Regions from separate parts of the Homo sapiens genome. Here region 1 is linked to region 2. The links are contacts of gene promoters, found by promoter capture Hi-C in blood cells and fetal thymus (Javierre and others, 2016). All regions are on one chromosome and are shown on one strand. The core of a region is centred on a gene start or on the middle of the fragment in contact, and the rest is flanking DNA. Distances in the headings are between cores, read along the strand shown. Region 1 holds the start of BOLL (boule RNA binding protein). Region 2 holds the start of RFTN2 (raftlin family member 2).

Region 1 (5,490 bases), core at 1,859-4,358, 110 kb after region 2:
CTACACCCTGGTGTTGTTAGGAGTTGGCCTGGCACTCACAGCTAGGCTGTGGTGTTCTCTTGTTAACAGAACACCAACATCAGACAAAGTCACCCTGTGACTCTGATGGATCAAGATTAAAAACAAGACCACTCCATAATCATGTTTGAATGCTGACAAAAACAAAGGCATTGCCCAAACCACAAGAATAACCAAACAACCCTCCATTCTGGCTGATATGAGTGACTGCTCCTTCTTTATCAGCTATAGTTTTAGCCTCGATCCATTTTTCTTTCCTTTTAGATAAAAGTTAACACATCCAATCATAGAATTACTACCATTTCCTGACGCTATACATTCCAGAGTAAAGCCCTACTTCCTTAAACCCTCTCTAGAAATTGCTCAACAGAAGCCTATATCCTGTAAGTTCTAACACCTTCTGATTGAGAGGCCCCATGGTTTATGTTTTCCCTTGTTTGAACAATTAACAGACCCAACTTTACTAAATGACGCATGTGTTCCTGGTGGTCTTTAACTAATGGTCATCGACAAGTTAATAAACTCTAACATTCACATTCACCATTTTCAGCCTGAAAGTCAAAATTTTAAATGCACTTGTCAATTTGAAGATTGGACTGATTTTGTTAAAAAATTATATACTTGTAGCTCATAAATGTTTATTCCAAAGAATTAGCTCAGTACATATCCACATGTTCACAATTCTAAGTTAGAGGACATAATTTAAATTTTAATAAATATATATAAATGTATAAGCCTTTGCAGAATGGTAAGATAATAGACTTTTAAGGTATAACTGAAAAAAAACCCAAGACTTGAGAATCACATTGAAGAGAAACCAATTCAAGAACTGGTGAATTATTTTCCATCTGGAAACACTAAACACACTTCTGAGACAAACCCCATAATATCCTAAAGACAAACCCCATAATATCCTAAATGTGTGCTTCAAAAAACTTGAAGTAAACTGGGTGTTGTGGCTTGTGCCTGTAATCCCAGCTGCTTGGGAGGCTGAGGCAGGAGGATTGCTTGAGATCAGGAGTTCGAGACCAGCCTGGGCAACAAAGAAAGACCCCATCTCAAAAAGAAAGAAAAAGAAAATAACAAAAGCTTGAAGTTCATAATTCCAATTCTCTGAGAAACAAACTCATGAAAATGAATCTCCAGCTCAGGTAATAAAGTTGTTCTTTTTCAAATTTGTTCTGCTCTTTCTTCTCTGGCCAATACAATCACAATCCCTAAATTAATCTTTGCAAGATGTACAGAGAAATGACTAGGGCAGGAGTGGCAATTGGGCTATAGGCTGGACCTTATGGGCTCTCTTCCCCATCCAGCCTTAAGGAAGTATGTACTCCTAATAAGGGAATATGTAAATACTTCTTTTAAAACACAGAAAAGCCACCACATTTAATAATTACTATGTTGTAGTTTCCAATGAAAGAAACTGGGAATCTAATCTTAACAGCTTTCTCTCTGGGCACTTGGAGGTTATTTGTGACTTCAGTCACTTCGCTCAGTAGGATATAATGCTCAGAATGGGTAATTCTGGAATGCTTAGTATTTTTCAACTATGGATTTTGTATTGCTAGAGATAATATAACAGCTCTAGTAGATGTAATCTTGTCTTTCTGCCCATTTGTTTACAGTGTCAAAATTACCTATTTGCTAAATTTAAAAAATCATTCTTCATGAAATTCTCTTATTGAAAATAAGATGTACTAATATGTTCGCAAGTTTAAGTAAAAGACAAACCCCATTATATTTCATTGAGAGAAGGATGAAATGAACGGAAGTAAACAGTGCTTTATTTCCAATCTCGAGAAACTAAAGGATACTCCCTGAGAAAAGAAAAACAACCTTTCACACTCAATTCACTTCATTCTCCTCCACTCTCTAAGGCTCTATTGTGGGCTCGCTCTGCTTAAGTTTTCTCCCTCATCATTTTCTAACATACGATATAGTTTACTTAGTATGTTTATTATCTGTCTCCACTATTATGTAATGCACCAGGGCAGAAGTTTTGCTTTTTTCATGGCAGCATCTAAAGTACTGACAGTACACAGCAGGTGCTCAATAAATATCTGTTGAATGACTAAAAGTGAATCATTTCTTCAGGAGAGACCTGCTCATGATATGCCAAATAGGCTGAAGGCTAAAGAATACAGTATAACAGCAGTCTAATACATATATATATATATATATATATATATATATATATATATATATATATATATATATATATTTGAGACAGTCTTGCTCTGTCGCCAGGCTGGAGTGCAGTGGCGTGATTTCGGCTCACTGCAACCTCCGCCTCCCTGGTTCAAGAGATTCTCCTGCCTCAGCCTCCTGAGTAGCTGAGACTACAGGTGCGCACCACCACGCCCAGCTAATTTTTTTGTATTAGTAGAGATGGGTTTTCACCATTTTGGCCAGGATGGTCTCGATCTCCTGACCTCGTGATCCGCCCACCTTGGCCTCCCAAAGTGCTGGGATTACAGGCGGGAGCCATCGCGCCAGGCCTACAAAATATTTTAATGTTAGCAATAGCAAGGCTCAGGTGGAGGCAACATCTAAGTTCATTATAAACAATTAGCGATGCATTGAGTTAAACAACAAAGAAAGCCTGAAATTCCACTAGCAATAATTCCGCATGTGTTACGGAAACACCTAGATGGGGACTGTTGCCGGGTTTGAAGGCTCCTCCGTTTGCTAAAACTTCCAGCACTAGAGAGTTTATTAAACTACTCCTCCAAAGCAATGTGCCCTCACTGGCCCCTCCCCTTGAGAATCAACCTCGAGATCTAGCATCTATTTTGCAAACGAAGACAGCAGGAACGGGCGGGCTAACCGTCGCAGTCACTGCCTCGGCGCTCCTCCCCCTCCAAGGCCAGCAAGTTGCGGCACTGGGGGAAATGGCCGCGGCGACAACTTCCTCGAGTTCTCTCGGGTCATCGTGAACTTGGGCACCGAAACGAGGATCCACCCCCTCCCCACCAAAGTGCGGGAGGGAAAAGAAGGCTAGCCAGCGAGAAATTTTGCCCCACAAATCCGCCAGCAGCAGTGGCGGGAAGCCTCAACGGCAGCGACCCCGCCGCTGGCCTCGTGCGCAGCTGGTCCCCACCCTCGCGCGGCGCTCCCTGATTGGCTGCTGGCGGCGGGACGGGGCGGGGCGGGATGGCACGTTGCCGCTGCGCCTCGGGCCTGTGCGGGCAGTCCTCCTTCACTTCCCCAAGTCCACCCTGACTGGCTTGGGTGCACAGCCAGGGCTAGAGTGTCCGGGTCCCGCCTGGGCCACAGGCGGGCCCTGCCAGGTCTCTCAGACCTTCCGGTCCTCGCTGACCAGTCGGGGAGTGGAGGCGTCGACCGCCCTGGCAACTCCTCGCCTTGGGCGGCTGGGTCGAGTTCGGCCGCAGGGAGCGTCAAAGACGCTGCCTAGCCCAATTTCGGCGGGAAAGCGGTTTACCTGCTCGGACTTCGCTGGGTGCCTGGCAGCCCGCCGCCTCCCGAAACATCCACGCCTGAGGTCCCCTGGCCCGTCTACACCCAGTCCAGGCCCCGTGGCGGCGCCTTTCTGACCCCCATGACACAGCCAGACGAGGTCTGCGGGCGGGTGGCTCCTGGCAGCGGTCGATGGGGCACCTGGCCACGTTTCTTCCCAACCAGATAGCGAGCGTTTGGGGCCTTCACCTCGCCCCTCCAAGCCCTCAGGGACAGGCTCCACGCTGCTCCTTCTCCCCGCTATCCCGCGCCCTGGGGCCCTGATCGCCGTACTCACCGGCCCGGACTCGGTTTCCATCTTCCTCTCTGCTCTTCAGAGACGCGGGGTAGGGAAAAGAAGCCTAAAGTTTGAAACCACCTTCACGCCAAGGCAGCAGCGCTGCTTGTCCTGCCTGGGACTCTCGCCCCCTGGCGGCGAGGGTGGCTGTGGCAGCTGCAGGGAAGCAGGCTCGGACCCCGGCCCTGAACCTGCCACCTGGCGGGTGGGGAGAAGCGGACTGCGTCGCCTCGGGTGGCAGGTGGCGGTGCGGGCGGGCGCTGCAAGCCGGAGAGGGGCGCGGGAGGGCGAGTTTCGGCTGTGGCCCTGGGACTCCGAGCCGGGGCGTCTCAGGGGCAGAGCGCACGGCACAGCGGGGCGGGCGTGGGGCGTGCGGAGCGAGGGCTCGGTTCTGGGACCCCTCTCGCCTTCTCTCAGACGGCTGGGGAGGAGAGAGCGAGCGGTCAGGCAAAGCTCCATGCACGCCTTCCCCTCTCCTCCACTTGAGAAGAGTCGGCCTCTGGGACTGGTGGGTTTCGAGAGGTTGAGGTGACCTTAAGGCTTTACTGAGGTAGAAGAAGCCGGTTGACGGGCGACTTCCGAAGACTGGTGTAAAGCGAAGAAGGTTCTAGAGTCAAACTCTGACTCTCGGGGCCTGACTCGCAAAACTCGGGGGCTCCCGAGAAGCCGCGGACGCCGCTCTGCACCTGTTGCCGCCGTCACTCATCCCGCCAGGCGGGCGGGGCCGCGCGGGTGGCTTGGTCAGGACCTGCCATTCAGCCCAGTCGGGCTCCGGTGCTCGCCCCGGACGGCGCCCCAAGCGGGTCCCGGCCCCGCTGAGCACCTCCAGCAGTGGCACAGCCTCTGGAGGGGTCCGGGACGAAGCCACCCGCGCGGTAGGGGGCGACTTAGCGGTTTCAGCCTCCAACAGCCTTGGGATCGCCTTTGGAAGAAGATTGCGCTTTTTTTCTTAAATTAATGAATTAATTTACTAATTATTTTTATTTTTGAGACGGAGTCTCGCACTGTCGCCCGGGCTGGAGTGCAGTGGCGCGATCTCGGCTCACTGCAACCTCCGCCTTCCGGATTCAAGCGATTCTCCTTGTCTCAGCCTCCCGAGTAGCTGGGATTACAGGCGCCCGCTACCACGGCTAATTTTTGTATTTTTAGTAGAGACGGGGTTTCACCATGTTGGCCAGGCTTGAACTTCTGACTTCAAGTGAGCTGCCTGTCTTGGCCGCTCAAATTGTTGGGATTACAGGCTTGAGCCACCGTGCCCGTCCAGTTGACTAATTATTTAGACACGAAGGCTCACTCTGTCGCCCAGGCTGGAGTGCAGTGGTGCGATCACGCTCACTGAATTCTCGACCTCCTGGGCTCAAGCGATCCTCCCACCTCAGCCTTCTGAGTAGCTGGGACCACAGGCAGGCCCACGCCACCATGCCTGGCTGAAAGAAGACTGCTTTGTAAATAATACGTATTTCTAGTAGGTAGCTAAAATGATTACAACTGGATAAACTTATAGTAATGATTATCATTATTATAGCTGCCATTTATCAAGTACTCACTTTGTTTCAGGCACAATGCTTTATGATCAGTATCATTTAATCTTTTCATGCTCACAGCAACCTTTCAGATAGATGCTCCAATTATCGTCATAGTACGTGATGAAGCAGAGATTTGAAGGATAAGTAATTTGGTCAAGATCTAAAGCTGTAGGAGGTTTAACCCTCGTCTCC
Region 2 (4,703 bases), core at 1,615-4,114:
AGTTTTCAGCCTAGATTCAGGACCCCAAAACTATGACTCCAGAGTTTTGTATGCTTCAAGTCTATGCTATGATTTCTCCTATAGAGATGTAAATAATGATTCAAAGGCCAAAAAGAAAAAGAAAAGTGTGGGGAAGGGAGAGGGAGAGAGACAGAGACAGAGAGATAAGGAGAGAATGGGAGGTGTAAGTTGTTTTGTTTTCTGGGTGGAGCTTTGAAAGTGATATATAATTGAATGGAAAATAAATAAGTTGTTCTAGAAAGTTATAACCACCATAATGCAGGACAGGGCACTGTGGATTTTCAGAGGGTCTCCTCCTCCTGCCCCCATTGGATCTACTTTCTGTGCCATGGCCTCTATTTGGAAAAAACAGAGGAAAATAATGTAAGAGACAGGCTCATCATGAGCACACACAGCTGTCACCAGGCCATTTTATTTCCTGAAAGGTTGCTCATTCCATGGTGGCCTCTGACAGGCAGGAGGTGCCACTATTCAAGCCTCCTCCCAGCAACCCAGGACAGAATTACCGGTGCCAAACAGAAAGCTGGCATGTTTTAACCCACCCATGACCCACTCCTATATACACTGGAGTGGCAGCCGGAGGTCAGAGACAACAGAAGAGCAGCAGGGAAACTATGACCTGGAAGGTAGTTTGCGGAGTTGGGCTGATGCTGAGTCCTGGCTTCTGAAGCAAAGGCAATGGGGAAGACAGAAACAAAGAAAAAACTAAAACAAAAACATGGGGAAAAATTGGAGCGCAATGGGGCACCAGGAGACTAGGCGCCTGTACCAAATAGGATCCAGGTGCAGCTTTAAAGTATGTGCCTGCTTTATGTGTTAACATTTGCACACTCTGCCCATACTTAAACTTTTACAGTGTAATACTCTGTTATCTCTTCTAAGCACCTAGAGTGGAAGGTAGAAATTATACTCCTTTCACAGAGAGAAGGGCTTCTGAGAATAACAAAACCCAAGTGACTTTTGAATAAAGCTGCAGATCTTTCTGATTCAAGGATGACTGCATTTATACAAATTTGTTTGAGATGTTAACATTGTTGGAAGGAAATGAATCAGAAAAACTTTTCAAGTTACTTTAAACCCTATGATCCTACAATGGGTTGTGCAGAGAATCCTAAAGTACAGATCAAAATGGTTCTGACCTAAATTCATGAATACACAGTGTTTCAAGGTTAAGGAGAGTATGTGTCTGTCTCCTATGGATGTACAGAAACGAGTCCTAAAAAAAAATTGATGAGGAAAATCAATGGTGTGAACATAGCACCACATTACAAATATTTTCTCAAATGAAGGTTTTTGAAAAAGTATAGAAAAAATTCAAACGGTTGTTTGGTTACTTCTCTGATAATTGCTATTATCTTAATCCATTTTTAACATTCATAATTTAAAAGAAAATTAAGAAATTAAGAATATTAATTTTTTTCTTTTGGTAGCCTTAGCTTTAAACAAAAATAGGATATGAACATGTTAAAAGTCTATGTACAGATTTTGTGTATGTCCCTGGAAGGGAGTTTGTTTGCTGGCCAGCTTAATTTTTGACAAAGAAAAATGGGCTGCTCTTGCTTCTTGCACAAAGATGCACTGTTTCTAGAGCAAAGCAAAAAAAAAAAAAAAAAAAAAAAAGAAAAGAATGTGTGTAAACAAAAAATTTGGAAAAAAATTAAGATAATATTCAACATGATAATTTAGTATAAACTTTTTGTGAATTGATAAAATGTGTGGCTCATTAGAATTAAAAATATAACTATAATAAGAATTTTACTAATATCTGATAACTTTAACAGCAAGCAAAGCACTCTAAATTTCATTTTTACTACTTCATAATTAAAGATATAGCTTTTTTAAAAAGCTGCTTTGTCTGTGCAGTTGTACAGTACTCTAAAGTTTCCAAAAGAAATGAGGCAAAGTATTTGTGAAATCGAGCCACCTCGATTCCTTCCACAGAGCTGCCATCTGGGCTTGTTTATTTGTGTTTCCAACTTTCTGGAACAGAGAGTTTCTCTGTTAGGGACAGGGCACTGAGCAAAGGAAGTGTCTTACAGAAGGCTATCTTTTTTTTTTTTTTAACTACATTTTCAAAACTTATAGTTTAGTTTGGTCAAAAATATCAAATGACTACCATAATCACAGAGTCTAACACAATTGGAAGCCTCAGAATTGTCTTAGCAAACACTCTTCCACGATATGATGCAAGTAATATTTACTACATAATACCTTATTGTGATTTTCAAATCTTTTTCAAAATACAAACTGTCACTAAGGCTATATAGCTATTTGTCCTGGAAATCAAGCATTTTTCATAAATCCTTCTATAAATAAGTATTTGATTTAAAAATGAAAGAAGTATTTCCAAGCAATTTCCCTAATTTTAGAAGGTACATATGAGCCATGTTACCAAAATACGAAGCAATCAACAAAACAAAAATCTTACAAAGTATAATTAAGAAGCGAAGCATTATTGTTTGAATATACAATCTCATTATGAAGAACAGTTTAAAAATTTATTAAGTCAACACTTAAAAATGACTAGTAGTCTCATCTCTGAAACATTTAACAAACAAAATAGAAGCAAAAAGTACCTTGTAGAGTAAAATCCAGCAATACATATTCGTAAGCAAATTCTGTCTTTGTTTCCACTTGCGGTCTCTTCAGGGTAGAAAATATTTTTCCAGGGCTGCTATCATCAGGGTCTTCTAGCTTTCTAAGTCCGCACCCCATGGCAAAATCTGTAAGGAATTAAATTGCAGGAAAGGGGAGGGAGAGCAGCAAATTCTGTTGTTTAAGCTGCAAAAAGAAAGTTACAGACTTAACTGCTTTGATTTTGTTTTCAGCTAAACTATAGATAACCAAAAAAAAAAAAAAAAGCAAAAACCAAAAAAAAAAAAAAAACCCAAAAAAAACCATCTGGGTCCAAAGAAAGGAGTTGAAGAATTTTTCTATCCATTTTTCTGTAAAGTCATTGAACCCATGATTAAGCTACAGCTCCAGGAGGCTGGGCTTGATCTTAGAGAAACATGCAAGCTGCTACAACTTAGCGGAGAATTTCCATGCCACGTCAATTTACAGCCAGCCCCCTACCAGAGTTCTGTCGCTCAGGGCACCAGCGGTGCTTTGTCTATTCCAGTTGGCTGGATGATAAAAAGAGGTGTCCAAAAACGGAAATAAAAAGGCAAAAGGGCAACTTGGATGTAATTATCTACAAGTAGAAGATATATTCAGACATAGTGGCACACAATTCTTTTTCTGTTTTCCCTCTCCTCTCTGTCCTGCGCCTACCCTCCTTCCTCTCAACTACTACCAAGAAAGAAAAAGGAGAGAGAGAGAGAGAGGCAGTAGGGGGGTGGAGAGAGAGACAGAGAGAGAGAGGGAAAAAGAGAGAGAGAGAGTGAAAGAGAGAGAGAGAAAGAAAGAAAGAGAAAAATGAAAAGAGTGGATTCTCAACATATTTAGAAACAAAAATCATTTCCAGAAAGGAAGTCAGCTTTATGAGGAAACTATTTCTGGAGTCTAAAAGGAGGAAAGTAAAGTTTAAAAAAACAGCCCTTTAAGTCTTTAGTTAGTACTTTTGAGGATTTCTTTCCATATGAAGTTTCTTTCTGTTGGAAAAAATCATATGCTAATTAAAACAGCAAAGTATAAAAAATTTATATTAAAATATTTTTATAAAAAAGACTTTACTTAATTGCAAAGGAGAGACAGTTATGTGTGTAATTAGTTTCCCCAACATCCTTAAATAGTTTAAAACACTCTACTATTAGAAGGCTTATGATAGCAACTAATACTTCTATAGGTCTCAAAGTATCCTTAATTAAAAAATAAAACAAAACTGACAACTTGATTCATTTAATTTTTTTTTTTTTGAGATGTGGTCTTGCCTGTCACCTAGGCTAGAGTGCAGTGGCAAAATCATGGTTCACTTCAGCCTCGACCTCCCGGGCTCAAGCCATCTTCCCACCTCAGCTTCCCAAGTAGCTGAGACCACAGGCTTCAATGTGATTGAAAAAATTTTTCAGGCTTGTATTCTCTAGAATCTCAACTGTGATAAGGGTTTATTTTGTAAATAATGGAAGCAGTGGCAGAATCACATGCAACCACATCTGGCTCATTTTTGTATTTTTTTGTGGAGATAGGGTCTCACTATGTCACCCAGGCTGGTTTTGAAATCCTCAGCTAAAGTGATCCTTCTGGATCGGCTTCCCAAAGTACTGGGATTACAGGTGTGAGTCACTGCACCAGGGCCATTCAGTCTTATAAACTGCCATTTACCGGAGGTCAAGAATAATTTATAATGGACCAATTGTAATGAACGTTTATTGTATTTTACCCTTTACAGGTCAGGAAGTATGGTGCGCTCATCAAAACTGTGAGCCCTGGAATCAGGCTGCCTGGGTTCAAATCCTGCTTCTTAGGCCTACTAGAGATGTAATCTTGGGCAAGTTACTTGACCTCTTCAAGTTTCAACTTCCTCCCCTGTAAATGGTACTTACTACATAGGCTTGTTATGAAGGCTGAATGAGATAATCTTATCTCATATGTTAACACTAGGCCTGGCTAATAGCACAAAATACATTTGTTGATGCGTGTACGTTATAAAACAGGTTGGGAGTAGGAATAGGAAGGAAGTGATTCTGCCACTGCTTCCATTATTTACAAAATAAACCCTTATCACAGTTGAGATTCTAGAG

The links. The method cuts DNA at HindIII sites, captures the fragments that hold promoters and counts their contacts. A CHiCAGO score of 5 or more calls a contact.
Region 1: a contact is called between the fragment with the promoter of BOLL here and the fragment with the promoter of RFTN2 in region 2, in 7 of 17 cell types (erythroblasts, naive CD8 T cells, M0 macrophages and 4 more). The highest score is 10.6, in erythroblasts.

The regions. Positions count from the first base shown.
Region 1 is chr2:197,782,211-197,787,700 of GRCh38, forward strand. It overlaps BOLL (boule RNA binding protein), which reads right to left and starts at 3,109. Exons shown (of 11, transcript NM_033030.6): 1 at 2,846-3,109. RefSeq lists an enhancer at 4,285-4,514. The HindIII fragment of the contact is 5,410 bases long and covers 1,106-5,490 here.
Region 2 is chr2:197,672,723-197,677,425 of GRCh38, forward strand. It overlaps RFTN2 (raftlin family member 2), which reads right to left and starts at 2,865. Exons shown (of 9, transcript NM_144629.3): 1 at 2,598-2,865. The coding sequence starts at 2,736. The HindIII fragment of the contact is 18,558 bases long and covers 1-4,703 here.